Linked DNA regions of Homo sapiens: region 2 is linked to region 1. Evidence: promoter capture Hi-C in 16 types of primary human blood cells and fetal thymus (Javierre and others, 2016). All regions are on one chromosome and are shown on one strand. Each heading gives the region's core, a stretch centred on a gene start or on the middle of the fragment in contact. The rest is flanking DNA. Distances are from core to core; before and after follow the strand shown. Region 1 holds the start of KRTAP23-1 (keratin associated protein 23-1). Region 2 holds the start of KRTAP13-3 (keratin associated protein 13-3).

The links. The method cuts DNA at HindIII sites, captures the fragments that hold promoters and counts their contacts. A CHiCAGO score of 5 or more calls a contact.
Region 2: a contact is called between the fragment with the promoter of KRTAP13-3 here and the fragment with the promoter of KRTAP23-1 in region 1, in 6 of 17 cell types (neutrophils, total B cells, M2 macrophages and 3 more). The highest score is 9.2, in neutrophils.

What each region holds. Positions count from the first base shown.
Region 1 is chr21:30,345,913-30,351,313 of GRCh38, reverse strand. It overlaps KRTAP23-1 (keratin associated protein 23-1), which reads left to right and starts at 2,708. Exons shown (of 1, transcript NM_181624.1): 1 at 2,708-2,915. The coding sequence starts at 2,708. The coding sequence ends at 2,905. The HindIII fragment of the contact is 4,066 bases long and covers 1,992-5,401 here.
Region 2 is chr21:30,423,376-30,428,776 of GRCh38, reverse strand. It overlaps KRTAP13-3 (keratin associated protein 13-3), which reads left to right and starts at 2,851. Exons shown (of 1, transcript NM_181622.2): 1 at 2,851-3,397. The coding sequence starts at 2,865. The coding sequence ends at 3,383. All of the region lies in intron 3 of LOC105372772 (a long non-coding RNA gene), which reads left to right. The HindIII fragment of the contact is 9,043 bases long and covers 1-5,401 here.

The DNA.
Region 1 (5,401 bases), core at 1,459-3,958:
ATTAAAATACTACTGCCATGTAAAGTTGTACCCAGACTTCTGGCTAACCTAACTGAGCACCTTTACCAATTATGGTTTATTTGATCCTGTTGCCTTGTGTAATGAGAAGAGAACAAGTGCACATTCACATACAAGGACTATAAAGATTGTTCAGAATATTCCCCTACGCACTAAAACCATAATTTCCATCCTCCGTTCATCTTCTAAGAGGTGCTCTATCTTAACAGGCCTTGGTTTACTGGTTATGATTAACTTGGGGATATATTCATTATAAAAGATAGATTTAATATTCATTTCACTTTTAATTAGAGGTAACTTTAAAAGCAGAAACATTATTTTCACATGCATACATTTATCTTGAGTGAAAGTAAAATAAAAGTTAATTATTTGATATAAATAATCTATGAGCACCCATGATGTGCCAGGAATTAGGTCAAAGAAGACTAAGCATCATCACTCACCCCACAAAACTTCTGTGCATTGCGTTCTTCGTTCTTCTCACATATGTAATTTCCCTGCAAGCTGAAATATTATTCATCCTGCATGAGCCATTTCAAAGTACATCCCTTGCAAATCCTCCACAGTGTGTGTGTGTGTGAACTAGATTACAAAATACTGAGATCTTTGTTCCTGAAGAGCTAAGTCTAGTTGAGATGAACACCTATCTGATAGGAGGAGTTTGATTTTGGCATTGAGGGATGAGAAGTGTCAACCTAAAAAGAAACTCACATATGCTCTTCAGAACAAATGAGTTTTAATTGGAAAGAGCAGCGAAGTGCAATCTAGGAATGTGCATGCTATGGTGGATGATGGATCATAGGCACATCCAAGGGGTTAGGGCACAGGAGAAGTTTTTAAATACAAAGAGAGGTCCAGGTAAGCTGCTTTGAGACAAGTTCACGGGTCAAAAGCTCATTGTAGGAGTTGACATTTGTTTATTGGTAAAGACAGCTGTTGCTAGGTAACTGTCCTGGAACCTATTTATCTGGAATAGTGCAATTTGAAGAAGGTCTTGTGATAACCCTTGTTACAGGCATGTGTGCACGAGGATTTTTTTTGTGGCCTCTCTTGACCCCATTTTGTTAGAGTTTGACATAAATGACTCCATTTTGGTACATCTTTCACAAAGGGATTTGGTGCAATGTGAGCAATGCATTTGGTAGAAATTTGTTAGCAAAACAATGGACAAAATATTCCATTGTTGCCAGATAAGCAAATATTACAGGAGATTACAAAAAACAATCATCTATGAAACAGTTTGAAAAGATCAAATTACATAAATAGCTTTTTGCTTTCCAATTTCTAAAAGATGCTTGAAGGCAGAAGTTGGATATGATAACAAGTGGGGAAAAAGACATTTCTAATTCCAAGATTTTTCTTTATACCACTGATGTTTTATAGTGGTAAAGATAATTTTAACCACTTAATATAATGGTAAATTTTATGCTGCTTTGTCTTCCTAGAAGGATGAACAAGAGAAGCTCAGCAAGGAGTGAAATGAATCACTCTGGAAGGTGTCGTATTTCTCACTCCCAACTGAGTTGGCAAAAGGTCGGCACCCTATTAAAATTCAAGCTTCTGCAAATGTATTTTATTGGTAGTCAACTCACTAAAGGCATATCAGTTTTTCGCAACTAGTCCCAGTGAAAGTCTGTGTTTGCCAAAGAATTTTCTGCCTCACACTGAAAAAGAATCTAATAACTCCATGGTGGATAAAACATGAGTTGCTTAACTAGGATAAACTGAGTGAGAGGGCAAATAGAAGATAATTTGTAACAAAGCATCTCCATAGTAACTCTGAATACTAAAAAAATAACCAAAATCAATTAAGAAGCTGTCCCCTCAGTTGGCTATATTTGGGGAATTCATAAAAGGGGTAAGAATACTCAAGTAGATATATCAGATGAAATGCAAATATTAACACCTTGGAATTTTTTTTTCACCTGCATACTCAATTGTCCATGTGATTCTGGGAGCAGAAATTACAAGCTTCACAAATTGTCTATATAGCTCTGTGGTTTGTGCTAGCCTTAAAGACAGACACACCTGGGATGACATGGGGTCCATGATTTGTTTGATTTATTACCTGAATGTTACATAACTTTTCCAAACCTCCATGGCCTTACTTCTAAATTGTTTATGACAACTTGTATCTCATAAGATATTTGCAAAGATTAAATCATACCACACTTTTAAATGTTGCGCATGTAGTTAATGCTTAATAAAACATATGTAAATAATGGGGGGTGGGTGGCTGCTGATTACTGTTGGGAGTACATTGCTGGTAAGAATTTGTAGGCTGAAGCTCAGAATACCCACAGTCAAGCTCAGTAAAAGGGGTGGGGAGGCACTGTATGTATCATCACCAATGTTTCTGAAAGCAAACCAAACCTTATTTCTGCAGAGAGAGAGAGAGAGAGAGAGAGAGAGAAAGAGACAGAGAGAGAGAGAGAGAGAAGCCAATGGGCTTCTATAAACTGGAATGATTACACTGCTGTTAAAGACAAATGAATGTGTTGAGTTATAATTATAACCTAGGTTACTTAGTCATTTGATGAAAACACATTCACAAGAATGGGGGGGTTCCCGGATACTGCATCACGCCCAGCAGTGTGAGGGTGTAAACATCACTGGATCATTGGGCACAGGCAGGGACATCAGGGCATCTTCTCAATGCAGCTCAGCTGAACTCACATCTCCTGTCAACATGTCCTACAACTGCTGCTGTGGAAACTTCTCCTCCCATTCCTGTGAGGGCTACCTGTGCTACTCAGGCTACTCCCGTGGTGGCTCCTCGTACCCCAGCAACCTGGTCTACAGCACTGAACCTTTGATCTCCCAGCACCTGCCAGCTGGGTTCCTCTCTCTGCAAGGGCTTTCAGGAGACTTGCTGGGAAACCCCTAGCTGCCAGATGTCCTGTGTGGAGTCCAGCCCCTGCCAGACCTCCTGCTACCGCCCCAGAAGCTCCGTGCTCTGCAGTCCCTGCCAGTCGACTTACTCTGAGTCTCTAGGCTTTGGATCCAGCAGCTGCCGCTCCCTGGGCTATGGATCTAGGAGCTGCTACTCAGTGGGCCGTGGGTCCAGTGGCGTCAGATCCCTGGGTTATGGAGGCTGTGGCTTCCCTTCCCTGGGCTATGGATCTGGATTCTGCCACCCAACATATGTTCTCTTTAGGACATTCCAGTCTTCCTGTTACAGACCAACTTGTGGATCTGGCTTCTACCGATCAACTTGCTAAGGGCTCCAAACCTCCACATTACAATTATTTCTCTCAAAGTCCATCTCAGCTATCATCTGGCTAGAACCTATATTCTACTATCCAGAAAAGATAATTGTTTTAAACTTATTAATATTAAAATAACATTTCTCATAGAATACTCATCTCTTTTTCTTCTGTTTTCTTGTATTTTCCCTTCCTTCTCTAGTTAAAAATGGAGCAAGAGTTGATTTCTTTTTCTTCAAATAAACTCATTTAATCTGATATCAGATCACAAATCTTGTGTTAATTTTCTTTATAAGATGTCTGTCGGGAATTTGAAACCCCCACTTTTTGTCTAAAAATAAAATATTCACTTTGAGGGAAAGGAGTAGGTTCCTTGATAGGCAGAGTTTTCTAACAACAGAGATCTAGTTCCTGGGAATTTCTGCCAAGTAGACTCAGAGATAGGACAGGAGATTATCTCTGTTTTTCTATTCATGGCCATTTAGGCCTAATCAGGACACTTCACTTTGGTTAAGCTACTCATGGGTCTAGTCTAGGAAGAAAATATCCAGAGACAGCAGTGATGTTTTAGCAAGTACTAGCCTGGCTGTTTTTATGAGAACATTATCAAAATCCTTCCTGTAATCTTCCTTCCCAGACATATATAAGCCACAATGAAATTCTGAGGTCAGGATTTTAACTGAGTTCAGTAGCAAGTGTAATGAAACAAATAGTTTAGGTATACATGAAATTAAAGATGTATGCATTCCACTATAATAAGAAGAATATAATATCTAAGAGTTTTTTTTTTTTTAATTTGATGGTTCACTCCCTCCTCCTTTCATTAGGTCACTATAAAGCCATCCGGTGTTATAATAGAAGTCACCTGAAAACTGTCTGAAACCTGGCAGTATCATGCATAGGTGACACGGACTGAGAGATAAGACTTTACCTCTTGATATCCTGGGCTTGTATCTGGATGCAAAACTAGACAGTCCATTATATTCTTACATTAAGTGGAACACAGTCATATACATTTTCAAATATCTAAATGGAGGTGGGTAGCTCATCGTTCACTGCTCTCACAGCTGTTTTCCTTCTCGCTCTTCTTTCTATGGAAATTGGATTTTGTTTGTGCATCCCTCCTCGTCCACACATAGTCCTGCAAATGAACGTGATTATGCCTTAGGCTTAAGGATTGAATTTGGCTACTCTAGAGCGCCCCAATGCCTACTGAAAGTGATTGGCTCAGGAATGAGCATGTGATCTGAGGTAAGCCAATGAGAAACAAGGAGCCATGTGGAACAATGCTTCTGGTAAAGTTCCTTCTCTGGGGTTTCTTTCTTTTTTTTTTTTTTTTTCTGAGATGGAGTCTTGCTCTGTCACCCAGACTAGAGTGCAGTGGCGCAATCTCGGCTCACTGCAAGCCCCGCCTTCTGGGTTCACGCCATTCTCCTGCCTCAGCCTCACGAGTAGCTGGGACTACAGGCGCCTGCCACCATGCCTGGCTCATTTTTTGTATTTTTAGTAGAGACGGGGTTTCACCGTGTTAGCCAGGATGGTCTCGATCTCCTGACCTCGCAATCTGCCCACCTCGGCCTCCCAAAGTGTCTCTGGGATTTCTTAAAACGATTCTCTCTACCTCTGGACTTTGTTATATGTGGAATGCTGCATCCGTTTTGCATATGGCCTGAATTTTTTTTTTTTTTCTTGAGACAGGGTCTCCCTCTGTTGCCCAGGCTGGAGTGCAGTGGCACAATCTCAGCTCACTATAACCTCTTCCTCCTGGTTCCAAGTGATTCTCTCCTGCCTCCAACGATTCTCTCCTGCCTCAGCCTCCTGAGTAGCTGGGATTACAGGTGCATGCCACCACGCCCAGCTAGTTTTTGTATTTTTTGTAGAGATGGGGTTTTGCCATGTTGGCCAGGCTGTTGACGAACTCCTGACCTCAAGTGTTCTGCCTGCCTCAGCCTCCCAAAGTGCTGGGATTACAGGTGTGAGCCACCATACCCGATCTAACCTGAAAATTAAACCATCAAATGAAAGAGGCCAGAACCAAGAGAAATGCAGGAGGACAGAACCTGGACCATCTCACTTCTGGACACTGGTTTATGTAAGCCAATAAAATTTCTTATCGCTTAAGCCATTTTGAATTACAATTTCTGTTACTCGTAGATAACATGTTTTTAAATGAGACA
Region 2 (5,401 bases), core at 1,602-4,101, 77 kb before region 1:
ATGTATGGCAATATTGAAAAGTAACTTAATATAGGCCTTCCAGAAGGAAGAATGAAGAAAGAAGCAAATATGGCCAATTCAAATATCTATTCAGTGAGTTACTTTCTATTTTTCAATGGCAGTTGATTTCCCCTAACCTTGTACCTTAGTAAGTAGGTTTGGAAACTATTCCTTCCCCATTTTCTTTTGTTTCAAATGTAACTCTTTAAAATAATCTTGAATACAAAACTTATGAGTTAAATGGAGAGCATGAATTTATTCAGGCAAAACTAAGGGATTTAGTGAATTTGTCTTCAGTTAATCCAGGCTCCTTATTCAAAAATCCTTCTCTGAACCAGTTATTGTGAAAAGAGGTGTTCTTCCCTTCTCTCTGCCTCTAAATCTCTAAAACTTTGTCCACATTAATTTGATAGAAGTTTAAGAAGAACTTGTAAATGCCACAACTTTGGACTCACTTCATCTTGGAGATCATATTATTTGTTCTGTTTAATATGGAGCCTCATCATTGTTGTTTCTTTTTTTGACTGAATTATTTATCAACAATTAAAAATTGAGATCTTTCACATAAAATATATGGCTCAGGGATATACATCAAAAGGCTTCTGATCTTTTGACAGATGATTCTCTTCACTGGGCTATGAATAATGGCTTTGGATATTTGAGATATGTTTTCAACAGAATCTCATCCATAGTTGAAAATTACAACGTTTGGCACCTACCTGCTTCTCTTTTCAAAATAACCAGGCAACTTGTCACTAACATGCTGGAAAATCTTGCTTTCACTAACCATCCAGGTTACAACCTCAATAAGCAAAAGCCAATACTTCTATATAAAGATTGAAAATAGAAAAAAGAGTATAAGCCATATGTAATGTAGTTAAAAAGTGTACCTTGCTTATAATTGGAATCTAAGCAAAAGAAAGATGAGAGGATGGGGCAGAAGCAATATTTGAAGAGAGTACAGTTGGGAATTTACCAATCTTGATAAAAGACATCAACTCACACGTGAAATAATAGGAGAATGGTGTAGATCTAGTCTAACTAAGGTGGAGATGGCTGAAAAAATGAGTTTTAGCAGATATTACCTGGAGACAGTCTGAACATAAGCTCCAAAACTAAACTCAAAAGTTTGTTTATTGTTTCTCTAAATCATTGAACAACTGAAATAATTTTTTTTTTGTTTACCCTGATTGGCATACTCAAGATAAAATGTTCAGTTTAAATTTTTTGCTATCCTTCAAAAAATTGGTTTACTTTTTGTATTAGTCTATTCTCACACTGCTATAAACTACTACCTGTGACTGGGTAATTTATAAAGAGAAGAGGTTTAATTGACTCACAGTTCTGCAGGCTGTACACGAAGCACGGCTGGGGAGGCTTCAGGGAACTTACAATCATGGCAGAAAATGAAGGAGAAGCAGGCAGTCCTACAAGGGAAGCAGTAGAAAGAGTGAAGGGGGAAGTGCTACACATTTTTAAACAACCAGATCTCATGAGAGCTAACTCACTAGCACGAGAACAGCAAGGGGGAAATCCACCCCCATGATCCAATCATCTCCCACCAGGCCTTCCCCAACACTGGGGATTACAATTTGGCCTGAGATTTGGGCAGGGACACAAATCCAAACAGTATCACTTTTTAAAAAGTATAAACAAGATTAAATATTTACAGATTTTCTGCATTTTTTCTCTTTCCAGAGTCTCCCCTGAGAGAGGCTGGGAGAGTTGTAAGATTTGGACATAGGTCTGGCCCAAGTGAAGGAGAAAGAGAAAGAAGTGCTTGAGACCTATGCAGGAGACAGTAGTTCTTTAAGGCCGTTGAGGAAACCCTGAGTCAAAGCTGGCCGTCAATTGTCTTCCAGGAATTCCTATATCCCACTGTGCTCAGTCTTTGCTTGGGAGCAGCCCAGAGAAAGCAAGCCTTCCCCAAAAATGCAGTGTTAACTTTTAGAACACAGCAGGTAGGACCACTGGTTATTTAAGCCTCCTGTAATTTAAGATCCGAGATGAGAATTCTCCAGGCTGCCACACATATGAATGAGAATCTCTTAGGACCATGGGCCTCATATTAGATGCATTGAATCTAAAATTCATTTATTTTTTTCTGTCATTTCAATGGTGTGTGTTTATTTAACACTTTAATTCTCTTCATAAGGCCCCAGAATTGTTTTTCATTTGTGATTGTCTCAGTTCCATCCCTTGCTGTCACCATGTCTCCAAATAATTGTCCAGGTTTCCTTCTGGTCATAGGCATCAATGTTATTCAATTTGTCTTGGCTCATACTTTTCCCTCTACACTGGATGTGAGACACAGTGAGTAACAGTACATAATAGATGAAGGAAACTTTTGTGGAATGAGAAAGGATGGTGACATGTAGGTTTAGTTTTCAGCAGGTTTCTCATTAAGGCCAAAGTTGTGTCTCTAATCCATTGACAAAAAAGACATGTAACTTTATCTCATTTCTCACTGTTTAGGGAAAATTATTGCCCATAACAGCCAATAACAAGACACATGAAAATTATGCTAGGAGGAAAAGGAGGTGCTTTCCTAGACATAATAAAATAAATATTAATACGAAACAGTCATAGCATTTCTGGCATAAGTGCAGTTCATTGGCTTTGTGCTATAACACCAAAATTATAGCACGCATAAATACAACATGTGGAAAAGTATTCAAATGCAATTACAGGCAAGATTGCTGAGCTACACATATGTAAATGAGGGAGCACAAAAATGTGAGGGATGACTCTGCTGTGCACCACACCTATTGCTGAGAGGATATAAATGACACTGTCCAGGATGCCACGTTAAAACTCAGAATCTTCCCAGGTACACTCAGCTGAACTCACATCTTCCCGTCAACATGTCCTACAACTGTTGCTCTAGAAACTTCTCCTCCTGCTCCCACGGGGGTTACTTGCACTACCCAGGCTCCTCCTGTGGCTCTTCCTACCCCAGCAACCTGGTCTACAGCACTGACCTCTGCTCTCCCAGCACCTGCCAGCTGGGTTCCTCTCTCTATAGGGGCTGTCAGGAGACCTGCTGGAGGCCCAACAGCTGTCAGACATTGTGTGTTGAGTCCAGCCCCTGCCACACCTCCTGCTACTACCCCAGGACTCACATGCTCTGCAATTCTTGCCTGACTATGCATGTTGGGTCTCGGGGTTTTGGATCCAATAGCTGCTGCTCCCTGAGCTGTGGATCCAGGAGCTGCTCCTCACTGGGCTGTGGATCCAATGGCTTCAGATATCTGAATTATAGAATCCATACCTCCCCTTCCCAGAGTTATAGATCCAGATTCTGCCATCCAATCTATTTTCCACCTAGAAGGTGGTTCCATTCATCTTGTTATCAGCCATTCTGTAGATCTGGTTTCTACTGACTAATGTGGTGACTGGTAAAACTCATTTGAGAAATGCATATTCTTTAGTAAGGTCATCTGTTAATTTCTTCCTTTGAGAAGTATTCTAATATTATTGATCACCAGGTCTTCCTTACTTTCCAGCCCTCAAAAACTGGGTTGTATGTTAGTTCTGTCAAACTGCAGTTTGGATCAATGAATAATCTATAACTGGATCAATCTGGATCTATAACTCTGGGAAGGGAAGGCATGGATTTTATAATTCAGATATCTGAAGCCATTGGATCAATGAGTGATCCAAACTGCATTATAGATATAATTTATAGTTTTTGTATTTCTTTCCAAAAGAGATAGGAAGTGAAAAAGATTTTATTTTAATAAACTCTTTATTCTTCTGTCCAAATGTGCTGTTAATATTGCTATTTATTAGTAAAGCATTGTCTAGGATGTGCATTGTCATTGCTTCTGGTAATGGGCTTTGCAATGCCCAGATTGTGGGATCTCCACACTAATTTTGGTTGGGCTTTAGATATTTTCCTCCTCTTTAAGCAGGAGTTTCTGGGATTCTCACAGTTTCCAAGGATAGCCTTTCTCTTAAGTATCCTCGTCAGGATAGTTAAGATAGCCTTTGCTATCATTTTTGATGATAACCTTTCATCAGAATCATCAAAAATGATTGTTTGGGTTGTATCTTGAAATAAAATTGGATAGGCTGTATTTATACTGTTCTGTTCTCTCACATCAAAGCGTTATAAAAAGTAAGTTACTGATAGTATTAAGAGCATTGACTATCCTTGTTCATTCCTTGAATATGCCATGCATCTCTAAGGACAGAATGTAACAGAAAAGTTTGAAGAGTACATGAACAAAATTCATACTTATATGATTAGGCCTGTTCATGAAGTATATTAAAATGGAAGACTAACACATGGATGTAAATGTTTAGAAAAGAGCACCTATGAGCTTCAGGTATCATAGTGCAGGAGTATCACTTATTTTTAATTAGCTAAATCCCTGAACCCCAATTACTGTTTTCAATCTGCTCAAATGATCTCCATTTGTTTAAAAAGGCAGGCAACAAACTTTGATGGGAAGGAAGTAGGCTCAGCAGGTGTTAGTTGTACCTGGGTTCTTTGCCAAAATATAAACTGAATCTAATTGAAAACTCTGAAGCCTTTACTATCATCAAAAATGATTGTTTTTTGTCGTATCTTGAAATAAAATTGGATAGACTGTACTTATGCTGTTCTGCTCTCTTACATCCAAGTGTTATAAAAAGTAAGGTACTAAGACAATACGATGGTAATGGCAGACATAATATTTATATAAAACAAGCAATGTTCAAGTATTTTCCTATTCTTTATTTTATAAGATCTTCTAACATTCTCTGAAATTAGAAATATAATGCAGATTATTAGACACTTCACAAAAAACTTAGTCTTATAAGTACATAACAGTCATCTCATCATGTTCTCTTCCTCTTTTACTGCGAATGTGATAAAATATGAAATATAAAGAGAGCTGTAGAGTTCATCGACTTCAATATTCTTATTCTACAGAGGTGGAAATGGAAACAGTAGCGTTAGATAGAATTTTAAAATGTTACTCAGCAAGCTATTGTAGAGCTGTGAGTAGAACTACTTTATTCCACCCAATTTATTTTATTGGATCTATCCAGCTGTGACATTTTCTCTTATCTCCTCACTTCCGTCATTTGCTCCCTATTTTCCTCTTCTTCTTCTTCTCCCTCCTCCTTCTCCTCCATCATGTTTAGGAAATAGTCATGGTGCTTATATAGTTAGAGGAAAGAAATAAGGAATAATGAAAGAAAATGCATAGGAAAAATTATCAGTGATTGAGTTACAAAAATTAAAATGACAAACTGTGAAATCCTCTATAAACTTGGTCCTTTTTATAACTTCATGGATTTTTTGAATTTTAGTGATTCTAGTTAGTCCCATGCTCATAATATTTACTCAAGAGTAATGATCAAGCCTTATATCCCCAAAACATAGGCAATGGTAAGGGTTTAATGAGGA